Linked DNA regions of Homo sapiens: region 2 is linked to region 1. Evidence: promoter capture Hi-C in human tissues and cell types (Jung and others, 2019). All regions are on one chromosome and are shown on one strand. Each heading gives the region's core, a stretch centred on a gene start or on the middle of the fragment in contact. The rest is flanking DNA. Distances are from core to core; before and after follow the strand shown. Region 1 holds the start of SPATA7 (spermatogenesis associated 7). Region 2 holds the start of PTPN21 (protein tyrosine phosphatase non-receptor type 21).

The links. Contacts are between HindIII fragments. The study calls those that stand out against the background at their distance.
Region 2: a contact is called between the fragment with the promoter of PTPN21 here and the fragment with the promoter of SPATA7 in region 1, in 1 of the 25 tissues and cell types used here (hippocampus).

Annotation. Positions count from the first base shown.
Region 1 is chr14:88,383,505-88,387,549 of GRCh38, reverse strand. It overlaps SPATA7 (spermatogenesis associated 7), which reads right to left and starts at 1,893. Exons shown (of 12, transcript NM_018418.5): 1 at 1,713-1,893. The coding sequence starts at 1,731. RefSeq lists enhancers at 1,701-2,020, 2,031-2,100, 2,131-2,210. The HindIII fragment of the contact is 14,884 bases long and covers 504-4,045 here.
Region 2 is chr14:88,552,905-88,556,949 of GRCh38, reverse strand. PTPN21 (protein tyrosine phosphatase non-receptor type 21) reads left to right here and starts at 1,943. Exons shown (of 19, transcript NM_007039.4): 1 at 1,943-2,299. LOC124903405 (proline-rich protein 2-like) reads left to right here and starts at 160. Exons shown (of 2, transcript XM_047432047.1): 1 at 160-187; 2 at 1,890-2,293. The coding sequence starts at 160. The coding sequence ends at 2,254. RefSeq lists a silencer at 1,936-1,985. The HindIII fragment of the contact is 8,452 bases long and covers 683-4,045 here.

The DNA.
Region 1 (4,045 bases), core at 644-3,143:
TGAAATAACTAAAAGCACCTCCTAATGAAATCTAAGAAATTTATTCTCAATTATTTTAGCTGTGTCTAAAATTATTTATGGTTTCCTATTAATTTACAGTACATGAAAGCTGACTGCCCTGGTTATTTGGTGATTACATTTATTTTAAAAATTCAAAATAACAGTATTTGACATTATCATATATTATTTCCTAAAAATGAAGCTAATTAAATTGTGCAAGTTGTAAAAATATAAACCTTTTTACATTTGGCATGAACCCAATTTTTAAAATAATTCAATAAACAAATACTGACAACTTACTAAATCTACCATACTCTAAATGTTACATTTATCCTTTCCCCCTGCCCATCCCTACCATGGGATAGTAAGTAAATGCATTGGCTTCAGATTTATATTCTTCACCTAGATTCAAATCCTGTTCTGCCGCTGTGATCTTGGCAAGTTATTTGTGATCTTTTGCTTTAGTTTCTTCACTATGAAATAAGGCTAATGCCTATCAAGGTATTTTTGTACATTAAATGAGATAATTTGGAAATAGTTCCTAGTACATAGCAAGGGTTTAATGTTAGTTTATATGCAAAATTTCTTAAGATCATAAAGCGTTTTGATTTGCTTTTTCTGAAACCTAGGTTGGTGAAGTGTCAGAATAGTTTGCTGATCAATGAATAGTTATCTCCTACATTCGGAGTAGCACTTATTTTGATCAATGACTATATAATAAAGGCAGACTCATTCAAAGAAAGACATCAAGGAATCATCTAGCAGCTTGGTTTAAAGGCAGTCTTTTAAATAGATAAAAACACTGAATTGGGAGGGGCGGGGAGTCTATAAAGATTGCCTCATTTGACTCGAGGAAAGAATGATACTGGCTCAGAAAGTGTGAAAATGCAAATTATTTGGTTTGGGCCGATTTGTAGATATTTAAGATTGTATTTCCCCACCCCCAACCCCACCACATGATGTCCACCTGACTCAAGAAATCAGTAGAGAACAGGTGTATATGGTGAGTACGGATTGCTGCTAAAACTGCAGTCCGCTGACCAGCAACACCGCATTACTTGGAATTTATTATAAATGCAAAATCTCAGCCACCCCCAAGGGACCTACTGAATCATAATCTGCATTTTAACATGACCCTGAGGGGATTCCTATTCACAGAAAGTTACAGAAACCCTGGGTTACTCAGTAGCTTTGGGGGAGGTAGTTCGTTACTGGGAGATTTCGTATTTACTGACCACTTCAAATGCGCCAGGATCTTCTCTATATTATCTGCATTTAATCCTCAAGAACTCCATGGCCTGGGTATTTGACCCTCACGTTCAAGAGATAAGAAAACTGAGGGTCGTCTCCATGGAGAGCAGAGGGGTTTGATTTGGGGCCCGGGGAGGTCTGACTCCAAAGACCAAACCTGGTTCCTCTGCCTGGGAGCTACTGAGGTTTTAAAGGCTGCACGACCCTGAGTTCAGGAGACAGGGGCCCCTGGTGTCAGGGCGACAAATTCAGGGCAAAGAAGCGGACCTGCGAGGCTGGCAAGCAGGCTCTCCCTCTTCCTTTGCGCAGGCCTGGGCAGCTCCAGGCAACACTGGCGACTCAGCCAGGGGTAGGAAGCGCCCCAAGGGGCGGCCTTGCACTCAGCTGCCCGGACCCGAGGCTGGGAGCGCCGCCTGGAGCGAGGGGCGAGGCGGCGGTAGCCCCTGACAGCTGCCCTTTACCTCTCCGGCTGCCATCCATGCTTAGTCCTCTTGCAGCCGCCGCAGGGACACGCTGTATCCCCTTCGGTCCTTCCCGCGGCCGGGCCCAGCCCCGGCAGTGGAGGACTGGAAAAGAGGAGCCGACGGGGGCTGCAGCAGCAGGGAAACCGTTGCCAGGCCGTTGCTAAGGGCTGGGTCCAGTGAGTCGCTATTGTGACGTCACGGCGCAGGGGACGTGCGTTCCGCAGCCCCGCCTGCGGGATACCCGGTACTAGGAGGACAGTTGCGGACGGAGAGACCTGGCGGGGAAGGGGCATCGAGCCCCAGTCTGTTGCTCTGGGATCCTGCCAGTCTTCCGCAGAGCGACCTCCTGTCAGGATCCGAGTCACCAGCACCTGGCAGGCTCTGTCCCTGCGGGAAGAGCAGGGAGAGGAGGTGGACTCATCTGGCATCCACGTCCCCTGGGTCCCGGAGAAAAGTGAAACACAAATGTTAGCTGAGGTCAGGGTAACATTTAACCAGTTCCAAATAATTAAATTTCAAAGCAGTCCGTGAACTTTTGGATTAGTGAAAATCCTAGGGGTGAAAAACATCTACATATTTACATCTTAATTCTTAACCTTAATAATAAGTTTGAATTTCCTTTCTGCTCGCCAAGCTTCCCCGCTCCTGTCCCTGCCTCCCTTTTATCGTAAGTTTCAATCCATTTTTATTTATAATGGAAGAGAGCTGCAACATGAATAAGGGGTTGATTTATTGATGGCTTTCTATAATTTGTTTAATTTTGAAGCAGTTACCTTTGAATCCTTGGAAATAACGTCAGATCAGGGTAGGAAGCATTCTGTCATGTAAGACTTCTCAGCCCAAATGTCCATTGACATTTTGGGCTGGTTGTATAATTCTCTGTTGTGGGGGTGCTGTCCCTATGAACTGTTTTGTAGCATCCCTGTCCTCCGTTTACTAGAAGCAAGTAGCTTCTCAGAAGCAGACCCCACCCACTCCACCTCCAATCCTGACAGTCATAAATGTCTCCAGACATTGTGAAATATTCCCTGGGGGGCAAAATCGCAACTCTGTTGAGAACCACTGCTGTAATGAAAAGAGTCCTGGTTTTGGAACCAGATATGTAGAACTTAATTCTAAATTTTTTGCTACTTACCAGCTTGATCTTGAATTAGTTTCTAAAACTTTCTGAGCCCCAGTTTTCTCTTTTCTAATGTAGATTGTGAAAGTTGTCAGAATCAAAAATAGAGTCACATGTGTTAGAAAACCTGACAAGTGGAACTGGAGAAGGCCATGAAGGAGAGTTCTCATCCATGAATGCCTGATAATAAAACTATCACAAAATACTGCGAAAACCACAACCTTGCACAAAGACCTCCACCTTACCCAAAAAGATACTTCTATGAGGACATCTGTCCAGCAATTGTCTGTCCAACCTTGAACTGACATCACCCTTGTTATTGATGCTTGGAGCCAAGGCTAATTACCTCAAAACAATTATGTAATCCTCTCCTTTTTTTATTTTTTAAAAAAACTTTTTTTTCCTTTAATTCCTTGAATATGCAAACAGTTTGCCATGGCACGCATATTCCTATTGCAATGCCCATTCCTGGGTAAATGTCATTTTCTTCTGTAGAGTTGAGGACTAAGCTCTAATTTTTTTATCTTGCCCAAATTCCTATCTAAGGTGTCTAGGGAGTCATGCCCTAGAAACCATAAATTCTTATCAGATGGGTTTTATTTGACTCTATATACCATGACTTACTTTCCAATCTGATTCTGGCATAATATTATGAGACAAGGAAAAAAAAATCAAAATATTTAACCCCAAGATATATTTCCTTGCCATATCTTGAAATTGCCCTGCAAAATCTCTTGTGGGAAAAAACCACATTCTATAGAGAATCTCTTTTCCCCTTTGTTTTCCTTCTTTCCTTTCCAAATCCAGGAGATAACCAACTAAGAGCCAGGCACCCTTTTAGGTCCGACAAGACAAATTTTACAATCTGCTCTCTCTCTGAGGTCTGCTATACTGAGAGCTTCCTCTGCACAATAAACTTGGTCTCCACAATCTTTTATCTTAACCCCAACATTTCCTTTTTATTGATCCCAGGCCTTCAGATAAACTCAACCAATTGTCAACCAGGAAATGTTTAAATTTACATACTCATTGAGTTGTCCCACCTTTCTGAACCAAACCAATGTATTTCTTATTTGATTGATGTCTCATGCCTCCCTAAAATGTATAAAACCAAGCTGCACCTCAACCACTTTGGGCACATGTTCTCAGGACCTCCTGAGGGTCACTCATATTTGGCTCAGAATAAATCTCTAAAAATATTTTACAGAGT
Region 2 (4,045 bases), core at 694-3,193, 170 kb before region 1:
GTTCAACTCAGTTGTCTAACATCTCTTGGGTTTTATGGTCATTTTCTATTTTTAAAATTCTTTTATTTTCTTCCTGATTCAATTAACAAGTTTTTATTTAGTGCCTACTCTTTGCCCAGTACTGTCCTAGGAATCCTAGGAGATATAAAAGAAGCCGTCATGAAACAACTTTTACAGTTCTTGCCAAGTGTGGAGATCACTGTGGAATGGTGTGGCTAGAAAGTCATCCTGGAAGCAGAGTCTTACTTGCAGAGAAGCAGAAGGCTTAGACAAGTGGAAAGAGGGCAGGAGGGGCTGCTGGCCAGGGGCAAAGCTTGACAGGGGCAGAAAGCGATATAGGTGGTCAGAGAGGCCCGTTTGGAAAGTCCCTATAGGTCAGGCAGAAGAACTTAACCTTGGGAGTCCATTAAGAGTGATAAGAGAAGGAAGCCTGGTATTAGCAAGGAAATAAGAGAGAACTGAGAAACCAGATGCCAGGAGACCACCCTTGTTGCAATAATCCGGATGTAAAATGATGAGGGTTTGGATTTAGAATGTTCCAGGGGGAACAGAAAGGAAACAAAGAATTCATGAGACATTTCAAAGGAGGAAATACCAGGTCTTGATGACAGGCTGGAGATGATAATGGGAGAAGTCACACATGATTCCAGTTTTTCTACCTTGGGAAGCCAGCAAAGTGACTTCTTTTTAGATCTCTTTTCTTTGCTCACACACAAATTGACCCCCTCATAGAGTTCAGTTGAAATATCAATTACAAACAGAATTGATCTATTTTTTTTCCCTTAGAAACACAGGTAATCTTATTTGCCTTTAGCTAAACGACCCAAGATGCACCTTGCTGGGCTTTGCTCTTGGATAGCACTCATACCTCTATGACAATGCTCCCCACTTTGGCCTTGTACTGCGTGTGTGGTGTGCAGGTGCGTTTATCACCCACTAAACCAAAAGTCCGTGTTGTGCAGGGACCACGTCTCATGCAGAGTTAAGTATTCAAAAGTTTTTGTTAATTGTTTAAGAAAATGAGATTTACATGAAACAATACTTTAAAAAGCTTTCCAGAAACAACAGCATTAAAACAAAATCACTGAAATTAAAATTTACATAAATTAAAAGGTTCTGTGTTCCACATGCCAAGAAAAGATCTTACACTATTGTAATAGTGGTAGGGTCACACAGTTTTATTCCTCAGCTTAAGTGCTGCAATACAGTAATAATGCAGTACAAGAATACTGTATAATAAACCTTAAACGAAACACTTCATATATACTTTACACAAGTTATTGGATATTGCTTAGTATTTATTTCCCCCACCCCTGCTGTGCAAAGATATTAATATCCCTCTTTTATAGGAGAGGAAACAGGTAAAGAGAAGTTAAGAAACTTGCACAAGGTCATCCAGCTAGTAAATGTTGGAGCTGGGATTTGACAACTTTGTCAAGTCTCCATCCTTAACAGTTCTGCTCTATATTGCATAAGCAGACAGCTCCCTTTTGGGGACTGACAGGTTATTTGAGGCATATGAACCATTTTTGGTGGGGGGGCTTTCCCACCCAGTACTGGAAGTGTCTAGTTATATGGGGCATAACCTTAGGAGCAAGCAGGAAAAGAAGAAATGTATTCCAATAGTGTTCAGAAATATACCAGAGTAAACGAATAACCATCAATAACAGCATTTTACAGCCTACCTAATAACACAGGAATAAAACCCTTTATCTGGAACCTAAATAATACCCCCTCCACTCATTTTATTAAAAGCCTTGCTTTATTTGGAAACTCTTAAAATAAGTGGTCATACGATTAAAAAAAGCAGCGGCGCGCCCCCTCCCCGGCGGCCGGGCGCAGCTGTCCGCGCCTCCCCCGCGCGGCTGCCCGCATTCCAACTCTCTGAGGTCACGGGCCGCCGCCGCCTCCCCGGATCCGCCCGCCCGGCTCAGGGGGAGGGACGCCTGGGCCCGGCCGCCCCGCTGCTCCGGCCGCGCGTCCCGCGTCGGTCCGACGGTCTGTCCGTCCTCCTGCCACCCCCCGCCCCCACGGGGCTTCTTTGTGCGGCGCTCCTCGCCGGCCGGTCCCACCTCCAGGCCTCGCCCCTCGCCGTCGCCACCGCCGGACTCTGCCCAGGGGAATGGTCTGCGAGCCGGGTTTTTGGAGACAGGAAGTGAGGCGTGCGAGCCCCATGAGCGCGCCGCGGCCCGGGCTGGCGTGCGGGTGCGGCTGCGGCGGCCGCGCGGCGGGGCCCCGGGAGGCGGGTCGCTGAGCGGGGCGCGCGGCCCCGAGGATGCGGGAGCGGGAGCGGGAGCAGGTGAGGGCGCGGTCCCCGGCCGGCGGGAGGGGCGGGCGGCTGGCCCGAGCGGTGGGGTGTGTCCACTCGCCCGGACCCCGGAGCGCGCCCGCGGCCCCGGAATCCCGGAGAATGGGGCGCGGCGGCCAGACCCGTAGCGGGAGCGTAACAAAGAGAAAAGTCTTGTTTTTCAGGTTCGCTCTCATATACTTGAGTAATTTCTAAAAGGAGTCTTGAACTTCTATTCCGAACGCCCTGGCCGATTGTTGCGGGTTAATTCTGGATCAGGGTTTTAAATGTGTTAGGCATATTTGTGCCTCTCAGAATATATAAACGTGAAATTCGCCAGATAACTTTGGCGAGAAGGGGCGCAGGGAAGGACTGTTTGGTAACGCCTGGGTTTGTTTTTGGAGTAGAGTATTTACTCTGGAAACAAGAATTCTTGGATCTGCAAATTCCGACTTGTGATTTCTGCAAATCCTGATTAGATTGGCCGCTCTTGGCATGCTCGTCCTATTTTCTTTTTTGCTGAGAAAGCCTTATACTAATAGCGTATGCTCACAAACACATTCAGAACATTCGTGTGCTCCAAGTGACAACTGCTGTATGCCTAATAGTTGCTGACAGTTTATTTATTTTTTTAAGTTTGGGACACGACAGTAATTTTACTCTGAATATAGTCCGTTTCGTTTCTAGGGCATTTTATTCTGGAGCATCTACGCACAGATGTTTTCTCCGTGAGAAACATGGGTTTAATGCTATAGCTATAGATATTACTCTAAAAATGTCACATACTCTCTCCTTTTAGTGCTTATTTTATTTTAAAGCAACTTTGGCAAAATTACATGTGGTAAGGACCTTAATAGGAAAGGGGAAACGCTGTAAGATTGAGAGGTAAAGTGTATTTGAGGAACTTTTGGAAAGGGTTGTAGAGAGGGAAAATTAAAATGAATTCACAAATAGTTCAGACTGCCTTTTGTAAACTTGTACTGAAGCAGAATCTAGTATGTATCTGTTTACTTACCACAAAACGGAAAGATTTTGTAGAGAAAAAATTATATCCTAGTTTTCCTTTAATAGCTATTTATAAATTATGTTTACTTTAGTAAATTATAATTCCAGACCCAATCACTTTCATATTATTGCATATTATTTTATACCTGAAACAGACCTCCCCAAAGAACTCTTAAATTTCTACTCATCTTGGTTTTATTATCTTCAGACATTCATAATTGTATTACACCATTTGGCAACAAATACTGCATATTACTGAAAATTAAGATGTATAAATCATTGATAAATTTGTAAATTATTAAACAAAATCATTGTTTTAACATAGTGGGTTTTATATAAATAAGCAAAAAGCAAGCCATTCTTATGGATAGATCTTGGGGGGATGCACCATGTACACACACACTGCAACTTTTTCAATTTCATCTACCAAAATAAGAGATAATTTTGACTTTTCCTTTATCCCTGATGCAGTAATACATTTCAAGTCTGAGGGACAATTGAAAGTTTTACTGAGTTTGCTTAATCAGAGCTTAAGTTAATAATTAAGTTATACAGTGTAGTATCTATTGCTTTCAAGGCATAGTTCTATGTAGTGAAAAGACTACCATATTTGAATGGCACCTAATACAAATATTTATCTTTCCTCTACACATATGCAATATCTTGTCTGTTCATCTACACTACTTAATCCGCCCGGTTTCCAGTTACCATAATTTTTATGTAAAATTGAAACCCACCATCTGATCTCATGAA